Linked DNA regions of Homo sapiens: regions 2 and 3 are each linked to region 1. Evidence: promoter capture Hi-C in human tissues and cell types (Jung and others, 2019). All regions are on one chromosome and are shown on one strand. Each heading gives the region's core, a stretch centred on a gene start or on the middle of the fragment in contact. The rest is flanking DNA. Distances are from core to core; before and after follow the strand shown.

Region 1 (3,764 bases), core at 810-3,309:
TTGCAGTGAGCCAAGACTGCACCACTGCACTCCAACCTGGGTGACAGAGCGAGACTCCGTCTAAAAAAAAAAAAAGAAAGAAAGAAGGAAGGAAGGAAGGAAGGGAGAGAAAAGAAGAAATGAAGAACGAAATAAAGGATGAAAGAAAAGGAAGGAAGCAAGGAAGGAAGGAGAAGAAAGAAAAGAAAGAAGGAAAGAAAGACAGAAAAAAGAAAAGGAAGAGAAAGAAAAAAAGGAAAGAAAGAAAAGGAAAAGAAAAAAGAGAAAGAAAGGAAAGAGAAAGAAAGAAAAAGAAAAGAAAGAAAGGAAGAAAGAAAGAAAAAAAGGAAAGAAAGAGAAAAAAAGAAAGAGAGAAAGAAAGAGAGATAGAAAAACAATTCCAAGCATGGGCGTGCACGAAAGAGAAGTCCAGGACCCCAGGAGGGGAAGTGGGGCTGGATGCAGCCTGGGGTCAGGAGAGAGATTTTGGGTGGGGAAGGGCTCCAGGCAGGGGGATCCTGACCCTGCCTGCCTGGAAGAAGTGGGCAGAGAAGCCACCAAAAGTGAAGGGCCCAGCAGTGGGTGGCTGTGGCTGAGGGACTAGAAGAGTGGCTGAGGGGGACCCAGGGTGTGTGAGGCGGGGGGAGGGGACAGAGGAGAAGCCTTGCTAGGCAAAGGGGCAGGCTGCCCCACTCCTGCCCAGAGAGCCCTGCCTTCGGTCCAAGTTTGCACAGCCAGCCAGGGACAGGTCTGGTAGAAGAGGGGGGCAGGTAGACCCAGCCAGACAGGTTTATCACAAAAAACCCCACAGGTGCAAGGAAGGCCCCGAAGGACAGCTGGAGGAAGAGCCGCTGGGAAAGCGGCTATTTTTTTTTTTTTTTTTTTTTTTTGAGAGGAGTCTTGCTCTGTCAACCAGGCTGGAGTGCAGTGGTGCAATCTCGACTCACTGCAACCACCACCTCCAGGGTTCAAGCAATTATCCTGCCTCAGCTTCCTGAGTAGCTGGGATTACAGGTGCGCGCCACCACGCCTGGCTAATTTTTGTATTTTTAGTAGAGTCGGGGGTTTCACCATGTTGGCCAGGCTGGTCTCTAACTCCTGACCTCGTGATCCACCCGCCTCGGCCTCCCAAACTGCTGGGATGACAGGCATGAGCCACCGCGCCCGGCAAGGGTGGCTTTAGAGGTGGACAACGCCCGTTGCGGGGAAAGGCACCCCAGAAGAGGGTGGGGCTCCACATGGAGGGTTCTGGCTGGTGTGAGCCTGCCCTCGCCATGGAAGCACCACTGTGGTAGAGAGGTCTCTGGCTGGGGGCACAGAGACCGGGTCTGTGGCCTTGGGTGGGGCGGAGGAGGTGGCGTGGAGGAGGTGGCCTGATCCCAAAGCCGGGAGCCAGCCAGAGGGGAGCTAGGAGAGACTAGGGGAGAGGGACCTCAGGCCCTGGGGTGTGCATGATTGTGGAGCTGTCCCTGGCACAGAGGCTGGGGGTGGGGCAGGGGCCTGACCCTAAAGCCCACCTGATAGCAAGGGGTACTTGGGGACTGGGACCCCAGGCCCTGGGGGGTGCACCGTGGGGCGGGGGTTGGACCCTGGCACAGAGGCGGTGGGCGGGCAGGAGCCTGACTTCGAAGTCCAGTGGGATCGCGAGGGGGACTTGGAGAGGACCCCACGCCTTTATGCAGGGAGGTGGGGGTCCCTGGCACAAGGAAGCGGGCGTGGAGCAAGAGACCTCGCTTGGGGGCGACCCGGATCTCTAGGGGAAATTGGGGAGCGGGACCTCGGGCCCTGGGGCGCGCGAGGCAGGGACTCTCAGGCTTGGGGAGGGAGCGCTGTCCAGGCAGGGGCTGAGCCGCACACACCTGCAGCAGCGCCCGCACGTGCGGATGCGCCCGGGTTCCCGCCCGAGCGCCGGGCGGAGGCGGGGCCTGGACCACGTGCCCGGCGCCGGCCCCGCCCCGGCCCCGCCCCGCGCGCCTGCGCCCTGGGGGCCGCCCATTGTTGGGCCGCGGCGTGACGTCGCGGGGGCGGGGCCGGGGCGGGGCCGCGGGAGGCGGCGGGAGGGAAGGAGCGTCCCGCGCCGCCGCCGCCGCCTCGGCCGCCGAGGAGCCGCCGCCGCCGTCGCCGCCGCCGCCGAGCCGCAGCCAGAGTCGCTGCCGCCGCCCGGCCCGGCCCGGCCCGGCCCCGAGCAGCCCCGCGCCGCCGCCGCCCCGCCCGCCCGGCCCCCCGTGCCCGCCCCCGCCGCTGGATGCAGGCGGCCGGCGGCCCAGCTCGCAGAGGCGGAGGGCGGCGCGGGCGGCGGCGGCGGCGCGGGCGGCAGGAGCGCGGGCCCCAGCGCTAGCTCCCGCCATGCCCAGCTCGCTCGGCCAGCCCGACGGCGGCGGGGGCGGGGGCGGCGGCGGCGGCGGCGTGGGGGCGGCGGGGGAGGACCCCGGACCCGGACCTGCGCCCCCGCCCGAGGGCGCCCAGGAGGCCGCGCCCGCGCCCCGGCCGCCGCCCGAACCCGACGACGCGGCCGCCGCGCTCCGCCTGGCGCTGGACCAGCTGTCGGCGCTCGGGCTGGGGGGCGCTGGCGACACGGACGAGGAGGGGGCGGCCGGGGACGGCGCAGCGGCGGCGGGGGGCGCGGACGGCGGGGCGGCTCCGGAGCCTGTGCCCCCCGACGGACCTGAGGCCGGCGCGCCCCCGACCCTGGCCCCCGCCGTGGCCCCCGGGTCGCTGCCGCTGCTGGACCCCAACGCGAGTCCCCCGCCGCCGCCGCCGCCCCGGCCGTCGCCCCCCGACGTGTTCGCGGGCTTCGCGCCCCACCCCGCGGCCCTGGGGCCCCCGACGCTGCTGGCCGACCAGATGAGCGTGATCGGCAGCCGCAAGAAAAGCGTCAACATGACCGAGTGCGTCCCGGTGCCCAGCTCCGAGCACGTCGCCGAGATCGTGGGTCGCCAGGGTGAGTGGCCCTCGTCGGGGGTTGCTGTCCTGGGGGTCCCCGCACCGTCCGCCCCGGGGAAGGGGGTCGCCCGAGCCCAGCCCAGCCCGCGCCGGACGCCCCGCACCGGACACGCCCCGCGTGGGCTCCGGCCTCGGCCGCTGCCTTTGCGCCTTTGTCCTGCAGCCGCCGCGGGAGAAAGTTGGGCGCAGCCCGCGCTCCTCCCCTGCGCGCTCCGGCCCCGCCGCCGCCTTTGTCTGGGCCGCCTCCAGCCCGGAAAGGCTCCGGGGAGCCGCGCCGCAGCCCAGGCCCTCGGCCGCCCGCAGGGGCACCCCAGAGAGGGGCTCGAGGGCCCGGGGCTCCGGCCGGGCGGGGGGCGCCCCACACCCAGCACAGGCGGCGGGGCGGGGCAAGCGCAGGTTTAGGGGTGGCTTAGGGGGGCCGCCTGCAGGACCGGGAGAGAAGGCTGACAGTACAAAGAGCGCACGTCTCAGTCTCCAGCCTGGGGCCCTGACTGGGGTGGGGACGGGACCGGGCAGGAGAGGGTCCCTGCTCCACTCTCTGGCCCCGAGTCAGGGATTTCGGGGCCTGGGGAAGGACCGGCTGTCAAAGCCACTTCTGGGGTGCAGCCTGCTGGGCAGGCCGGCGGGCGGCAGGCCCCGGGTGTGGGGTCCAGCGGTGGCATCGTCGGAGCTTCCCTCTGGCCGCCCCATTGTTCTCTTTGTTAGAGAGCGAGGCTGAGATTTGCAGGGTGACATCAGGCCGGCCGCTGCTCATTGGCCCCCGAGCTGCGGGGCGGGCGGGCGGGTGGTGGGCAGTGCCTGGCCCAGCTCACACCCACCACCCCGTTAGCCACCCGCCCGCC
Region 2 (3,764 bases), core at 442-2,941, 220 kb before region 1:
AGCTATTTGGAAGGTAGAGACAGGAGAATCACTTGAGCCCAGGAGTTCGAGGCTGCAGTGAGCTATGATTGGGCCACTGCACTCCAGCCTGGGTGACAAAGTGAGACCCTATCCCCCACCCCCGAGAAAAAAAAAAAAAAAGAATTTGCTGTGCAAAGCATAGGGAAGGTGTTCCTGGCAGGGAAACAGTCCTCCAAGAAGGTCTGGAGGCAAAAGAGAGCTGAGGGTCTGGGGGTGGGAGCAGGTGTCTGAGACAGAGTAGGTGGGGAGCAGGGGCAGCTCAGTTTTCTTTTCTTTTTTTTTTTTTTTGAAACAGAATCTTGCTCTGATACTCAGGCTGGAGTGCGATAGGGCGATCTCAGCTCACTGCAACCTCGGCCTCCCAGGTTCGAGGGATCCTCCCACCTCAGCCTCCTGAGTAGCTGGGATTCCAGGCATGCGCCACCACACCTGGCTAATTTTTTATGTGTTTCGAGTGGAGACGCGGTTTCACCGTATTGGTTAAGCTGGTCTCAAACTCCTGGCCTCAAGTGATCCGCCTGCCTCGGCCTCCCAAAGTGCTGGGATTACAGGTGTGAGCCACCACGCCCAGCCCTCTTCCCCGCTTTCTTTCTATTGTTTTTTCTATTTTTTTTTTTTTTTTTGAGATGGAGTCTCACTTTGTCGCCCAGGCTGGAGTGCAGTGGTGTGATCTCAGCTCGCTGCAACCTCCGCCTCCCAAGTTCAAGCAATTCTCCTGCCTCAGCCTCTCAAGTAGCTGGGACTACAGGCACCCACCACCATGCCTGGCTAATCTTTGTATTTTGGGTAGAGACAGGGTTTCACCATGTTGGCCAACCTGGTCTCAAACTCCTGGCCTCAAATGATCCGCCTGCCTCAGCCTCCCAAAGTGCTGGGATTGCAGGCGTGAGCCACCGTACCCGGCCTCAGACCAGTTTTCTGAATCCCTTCTGGCTGCTGTTGGCTGGGGAGGCAACAGGCTTTTGGTTGGGGGACCCAGGCTCCGGAGCCCGGCAGGGGGTTGGGGAGGGCTGAGCCTCGGATGTCGGCTTCAGCATGGTGACAGCTTCCACCTGCCCGGCCCCCAGGCCTTTGCCCAGGAGACCCTGCGGACACTGTGCCTGGCCTACAGGGAGGTGGCTGAGGACATTTACGAGGACTGGCAGCAGCGCCACCAGGAGGCCAGCCTCCTGCTGCAGAACCGGGCACAGGCCCTGCAACAGGTGTACAACGAGATGGAGCAGGACCTCAGGGTGGGTGGGCAGCGGGGGCACCCAAGGGGGCCCTGGGACTCTCCTGCCCCCGCCAGGGAGCTGGACGGCTGCTCAGCATCTTCCCCGCCCTGCCCTCCTCCCCCACCAGCTGCTGGGAGCCACAGCCATCGAGGACAGACTCCAGGACGGTGTCCCTGAAACCATCAAATGTCTCAAGAAGAGCAACATCAAAATATGGGTGCTCACCGGGGACAAGCAGGGTGAGTCCCGGGCAGCTCCGGGTGGCTAAGCCCCTGCAGCATGGGTCTTCAAACTTCCCTGAAGTTTGAAGGCTCACACCTGTCATCCCAGCACTTTGGGAGGCCGAGGCGGGCGGATCACTTGAGGTCAGAAGTTCGAGACCAGCAGGGCCAACATGGTCAAACCCCGTCTCTGCTAAAAATACAAAAATGGGCCTGGCCAGGTGTGGTGGTGCGCATCTGTAATCCCAGCTACTCAGGAGGCTGAGGCAGGAGAATCGCTTGAACCTGGGAGGCAGAGGTTGCAGTGAGCCAAGATCGCACCATTGCACTCCAGCCTGGGCGACAGAGCGAGACTCTGTCTCAAAAAAAAAAAAAAAATGCTGCAACTCTCAGAGGAGCGCAGTGGCACATGCTTGTGGTCTCAGCTACTCCAGAGAAACGAGGCAGGAGGCTCGCTTATGCCCAGGAGGTTGAGGCTGCAGTGAGCCGTGATTGCGCCACTGCCCTCCAGCCTGGGTGACAGAGTGAGCCCTTGTCAAAAAAAAAAAAAGTGATTTTCAGGGTGCCCTCTGTCGGCCAGGAGCCAGCCCAGGGAAACATATTCAATTATTTCCCTTCTGATTTAAAAAGATATTGAGACATTTTGTGGGTTCCTGAAGGCACTGTGGATCCTAGGCACATGTGCCTGCTGATCCTGGCCTCAGACACATCTCTGGGCAGCCCAGTCCCGGCCAGAACTACAGCCAAAATCTCAGGGCTGGCTCTCATTGGTGAGCCTGGGTTACAAGCCCTTCTCTGAACCAATCACCATGGCCAGGGGGTGGGGCATGTGGCTGCCATTGGTCGGGCCAGGATTCACCGGGCAGAGTGGGCGTGGCCCCCAGGCAGCCAGTGCGGGGCGGGTCGCAGAGGCGCTGAGCTGGTCTGCTTCGCAGAAACGGCTGTGAACATCGGCTTCGCCTGCGAGCTGCTGTCAGAGAATATGCTCATTCTGGAGGAGAAGGAGATTAGGTAAGAAGTGGGGAGTTGGGGGGTGAGCAAGGGGAGTGGGGAGGTGAGGACAAGGAGCACCCAGGTGCGTGTCTCACTGGACGGGGAGCCCAAGGCACAGTGGGAAGGGGGGGATTGAGAGGGGAGGGAAGGGTAGGAGGAAGGAGTGTGGTAATGGGGAGTGGAGGGAGCTTGGAGGGAAGGGGGAGGGGCAGTGGAGGGAGAAGGGGAGAGGCAGAGGAGGGGGAGGAGCAGAGGAGGGAGGGGGAAGAGGGAGGGAAGGTGAGGGCAGGGGGAGGGGCAGGGGTGGCGAAGTGGGCAGTGGAGGGAGAGGGTAGGGGAGAGGGAAGGGAGGGGAGGGGAGAGGGGAGGGGAGAGGGAAGGGAGGGGAGGGGGAGGTGCAGGGGTGAGGGAGTGGGCAGTGGAGGGGAAGGATGGGGGCAGTGGGGAGGAGGGGAGGGGCAGTGGAGGGAGGGGGAGGGGAGAGGGAGGGGAGGGGGGAGCAGCGGAGGGGAGTGGGCGGTGGAGGGGGAGGGGAGGAGAGAGGAGGCAGAGGGGAGGAGAGAGGGAAGGGGGAGGGGCAGGGGTGGGGGAGTGGGCAGTGGAGGGGAAGGGGAGGGGCAGCGGCGGGAGGAGGAGGAAAGGGGAGGGGAAGAGGGAAGTGGGGAGGAGAAGGGGCAGGGGTGGGGGAGTGGGCAGTGGAAGGGGTGGGAGGGGCAGTGGAGCCCCCGGGGAAGTGGGGAGAAGCCCGCCCCCTCCCCTGCCCCGCTGACCCCTGCGCCCCGCAGCCGCATCCTGGAGACCTACTGGGAAAACAGTAACAACCTTCTAACCAGGGAGTCCCTGTCGCAGGTCAAGCTGGCCTTGGTCATTAACGGAGACTTCCTGGTCAGTGTCGCTCAGGGTGGACGGCGGGGTCCCGGCGCCAGGGAGGGGCCTGGAGGGGCGGCGGGCTCGGGGTGGGGACTGCTGGCGAGGCCGAGGGCCGGGTAGGGTCCAGTCTGGCCTGGAGGCCACGGCGCCTGGCACAGCCCCCTCCCCGCCGGCCAGGACAAACTGCTGGTGTCCCTGCGGAAGGAGCCGCGCGCCCTGGCGCAGAACGTGAACATGGACGAGGCGTGGCAGGAGCTCGGCCAGTCCAGGAGGGATTTCCTCTACGCCAGGCGCCTGTCCCTGCTGTGCCGGAGGTTCGGGCTCCCGCTGGCTGCACCGCCAGCCCAGGACTCCAGAGCCCGCCGTAGCTCCGAGGTGCTGCAGGAGCGCGCCTTCGTGGACCTGGCGTCCAAGTGCCAGGCGGTCATCTGCTGCCGCGTGACGC
Region 3 (3,764 bases), core at 329-2,828, 150 kb before region 1:
TCTTGTTGCCCAGGCTGGAGTACAATGGCACCATCTTGGCTCACTGCAACCTCCACCTACTGGATTCAAGCAATTCTCCTGCCTCAGCCTCCCAAGTAGCTGGGATTGTAGGCATGCACCACCACACCTGGTTAATTTTGTATTTTTAGTAGAGATGGGGTTTCACCATGTTGGTCAGGCTGGTCTTGAACTCCTGACCTCAGGTGATCCGCCCACCTCGGCCTCTCAAAGTGTTGGGATTACAGGCATGAGCTACCTGCCTGGCCATGGTCCCATTACTTTGGAAGGCTGAGGCAGGAGGATCTCTTGAGCCCAGGAGTTGGAGGCTTCAGTGAACTATGATTGCATCACTGCACTCCAGCCTGGGTGACAGAGCAAGACCCTCTCTCTCTCTCTCTCTCTTTTTTTTTTTTTTTTTTTTTTGAGACAGGGCTTTGCTCTTGTTGCCCAGGCTGCAGTACAATGGCACCATCTTGGCTCACTGCAACCTCCGTCTCCTGGGTTCAAGCAATCCTCCTGCCTCAGCCTCCCGAGTAGCTGGGATTACAGGCATGCGCCACCACGCCTGGCTACTTTTGTATTTTTTGTAGAGACGGGGTTTCACCGTGTTGATCAGGCTGGTCTCGAACTCCTGGCCTCAGGTGATCCACTCGCCTCGGCCTCCCGAAGTGCTGGGATTCCAGGCGTAAGCCACTGCGCCCGGCCAACCCGGTCTCTTAAAAAAACAACAGACAGGGGTTTTACCAAAATGGGCTCACCTGACCTCTGACTCTCATGTGGTCTGTGTCTTTCCTGTTATCTCACGGGCATCTTCCCGTGTCATTTAAATGTCTCCTCCCCCATCACCTTTGATGACCACCCAGCATTCCACCCAAGGAGGAGGCCACCGCTGTTTCTCAGTCCCCTTCGCTTGGGTAGCAAAGCTATGCCCAGTACGTTTTGTTCCGGAACACAGCAGAAGAGCAGCATCGGGCAAGGGTAACACATTGAAATAAGCGGAGGATGGGCACGTGAATAATAAAGGCCCCCCCAGCACGTACACCTGAATGAAAAAGCATCTAGAATTTCTGACCCCTCCATCCCCTCCTGTCTCTGTGGATGGGCCTTTCCTGGGCATTTCATAGAAACAGGATCACACACTGTGTGTCCTTTTGTGTCTGGCGTCTCTCACTGAGCGTGACGTCCTCAAGGTGCATCTATGCTGTGGTCTGGGTCAGAACTTCATCCCTTTCTGAAAAATTTTGTTTTATTTTATTTTATTTTATTTCTTGAGACAAAGTCTTGCTGTGTCACATAGGCTGGAGTGCAGTGGCACAATCTCAGCTCACTGCAACCTCCGTTTCCCAGGTTCAAGCAATTCTCCTGCCTCAGCCTCCTGAGTAGCTTAGATTACAGGCGCACGCCACCACGCCAGGCTAATTTTTGTACTTTTAGTAGAGATGGGATTTCACCATGTTGGTCAGGCTGGTCTCAAACTCCTGACCTCAGGTGATCCACCCATCTCGGCCCCCCAGAGTGCGGGGATTACAGACGAGAGCCACCACGCCTGGCCCAAAATTTTTTAAACGGTGTTAAAACATATATAAATAAAGTTTCCCATCTCAAGCTTTTTTTTTTTTTTTTTTCTGAGACAGAGTCTCACTTTGTTGCCCAGGCTGGAGTGCAGTGGCACGATCTTGGCTCACTGCAACCTCTGCCTCCCGGGTTCAAGCCATGCTCCTGCCTCAGCCTTCCAAAGTGCTAGGATTACAGGTGCCACCACGTTCGGCTAATTTTTGTATGTTCCGTAGAGACAGGCTCTCGCCACGTTGCCTAGGCCGATCTCAAACCCCTGGGTTCAAGCCATCCTCCCAACTTAGCCTCCCAAAGCACTGGGATTACAGACATGAGCCACCATGCCCAGCCCCCATGTTACTTTCTATCTCTGGATCTGATGACTCTAGGGCACTTTCATGCGTGGAGTGACACAGGATTTGTCCTTCTGTGTCTGGCATCTCTCACTGAGTGTGATGTCCTCAAGCTTCATCCATGCTGTGGCCTGGGTCAGAGCCTCATTCCTTTTTGTGGCTGAGTTGTGTGGATCCATCCTTCTGGTGATGGACGCTTGGGCACCTCCACCCATTGGCTAGTGCAGCAGCTACATCTCTGAACCTGGATGCACCTCAGTGTCTTCTGACATCTTCAATTTCCATCAAGTAGATCCTGGGGCAGGCCCCATATGGGGTCAAGCATCACCCGTCCCACCTCACATGGGGCTGAGCCTCAAGATGCCAATGGGGCCAGGCATGGTGGTTCACACCTGTAATCCCAGCCCTTTGGGAGGCTAAGGCGGGCGGATCACTTGAGATCAGGAGTTCGAGACCAGCTTGGCCAACATGGCAAAACCCCATCTCTACTAAAAATACAAAAAAAAAAAAAAAATTAGCCCGGCATGGTGGTGGATACCTGTAATCCCAGCTACTCAGGAGCCTGAGGCAGGAGAATCACTTGAACCCGAGAGGCAGAGGCTGCAGAGCTCTCCAGACTAGGCAACAGAGCAAGACTCTGTCTCAAAAAAAAAAAGATGCCAATGAGAGGGGCAATGCCAGGACTCATAAGACAGACTCATAAGAAGGACACACCTGAATTTGCCTCCCTGTGTCATGGGACCCCAGGCAGGTGGCTTCACCTCTCTGAGCTTTGGTCTTCTCCTGTGTGAGCAGGGGTGGTTGTGAGGATTAAACGAGCCTGGGCAAGGCATCGGAACTTAGATGCCTCAAGATTTTCAGGACATGACTGGGCATGGTGGCTCACGCCTGTAATCCCAGCACTTGGGGAGGCCAAGGCGGGTGGATCACCTGAGGTCAGGAGTCTGAGACCAGCCTGGCCAACGTGGTGAAACCCCGTCTCTACTAAAAATACAAAAATTAGCCGGGCTTGGTGGCGGATGCCTGTAGTCCCAGCTATTCAGGAGGCTGAGGCAGGAGAATTGCTTGAACCCAGGAGGTGGAGGTTGCAGTGAGCTGAGATCGCGCCACTATACTCCAGCCTGGGCAACAGAGCGAGACTCCGTCTCAAAAAAAAAAAATTTCAAGACATGCTGGGTGAGTGGGGATGACGCGTCTGTGATGAGCAGGCCACAGGCTGTCAGGGTGCAGGACCGAGAGCTTCCCCATGCCCCCGGCCTCTATGCCCTTGTGCCATCCTGGGTGCAGGAAGTGTGGCACTGGTGACGGGAGGACAGGTTAAAGGGGTGTGGGGGACGGTCTTTGCTTGAATCCCACTGTGTGACCACGAGCAAGTCACTTCCCTGGTCTGTGCCTCGGTTTCCCTATCTGTAAAATGGAGCTGGTGAGGTCATTGGCTTCCAAAGCCTCAGCACGGTGCCTTCCCAGTGCTGAGAACGTCCTCCATGGGTGATTCTATTAGGGTGGTTTTGAAATCATTCTGCAGCGCCGTCAGCTTCTGGGCCCTCAGAAGCCCGTGCCCCTCTCCTGGCTCTGTCTTCCCATGGGTGTCGTGCCTCTGGCAGCATATGAATTCTGTAGTTATTTCTGATGTATCCTGGGCCCCCAAAGAAATACGTTTTCTTCAATTATTAATCATCGAGGTGTGAGAGACACGTGGGGATGAAATTTGCTCCCTGACCTTTGGGGAGAGGGTGAGGGAGGGAGTGGGGGCGGCCCCTGAGCCTGCACAGATCAGATGGGGGGCTCGGGTGGGGGAGCTGAGACTCTCAGAGTGGGGGCCTCCAGAAAGAAGGGGGGGTCTTGTGAAACGGGTAG

Evidence for each region. Contacts are between HindIII fragments. The study calls those that stand out against the background at their distance.
Region 2: a contact is called between a fragment that was not itself captured here and the fragment with the promoter of MEX3D in region 1, in 3 of the 25 tissues and cell types used here (lymphoblastoid cells, mesenchymal stem cells and spleen).
Region 3: a fragment that was not itself captured here is called in contact with the fragment with the promoter of MEX3D in region 1 in 3 of the 25 tissues and cell types used here (adrenal gland, dorsolateral prefrontal cortex and spleen).

The regions. Positions count from the first base shown.
Region 1 is chr19:1,566,620-1,570,383 of GRCh38, reverse strand. It overlaps MEX3D (mex-3 RNA binding family member D), which reads left to right and starts at 2,059. Exons shown (of 2, transcript NM_203304.4): 1 at 2,059-2,920. The coding sequence starts at 2,326. RefSeq lists silencers at 1,780-1,829, 1,870-2,059. The HindIII fragment of the contact is 18,806 bases long and covers 1-3,764 here.
Region 2 is chr19:1,789,460-1,793,223 of GRCh38, reverse strand. It overlaps ATP8B3 (ATPase phospholipid transporting 8B3), which reads left to right. Exons shown (of 29, transcript NM_138813.4): 19 at 1,089-1,223; 20 at 1,363-1,474; 21 at 2,392-2,467; 22 at 3,235-3,334; 23 at 3,497-3,764. Among named protein-coding and RNA genes, the nearest start is that of ATP8B3, 21 kb to the left of the region's middle. RefSeq lists an enhancer at 3,106-3,764. The HindIII fragment of the contact is 6,480 bases long and covers 1-3,764 here.
Region 3 is chr19:1,720,921-1,724,684 of GRCh38, reverse strand. No RefSeq gene overlaps it. Among named protein-coding and RNA genes, the nearest start is that of ONECUT3, 31 kb to the left of the region's middle. RefSeq lists a silencer at 1,507-1,696. The HindIII fragment of the contact is 4,546 bases long and covers 1-3,764 here.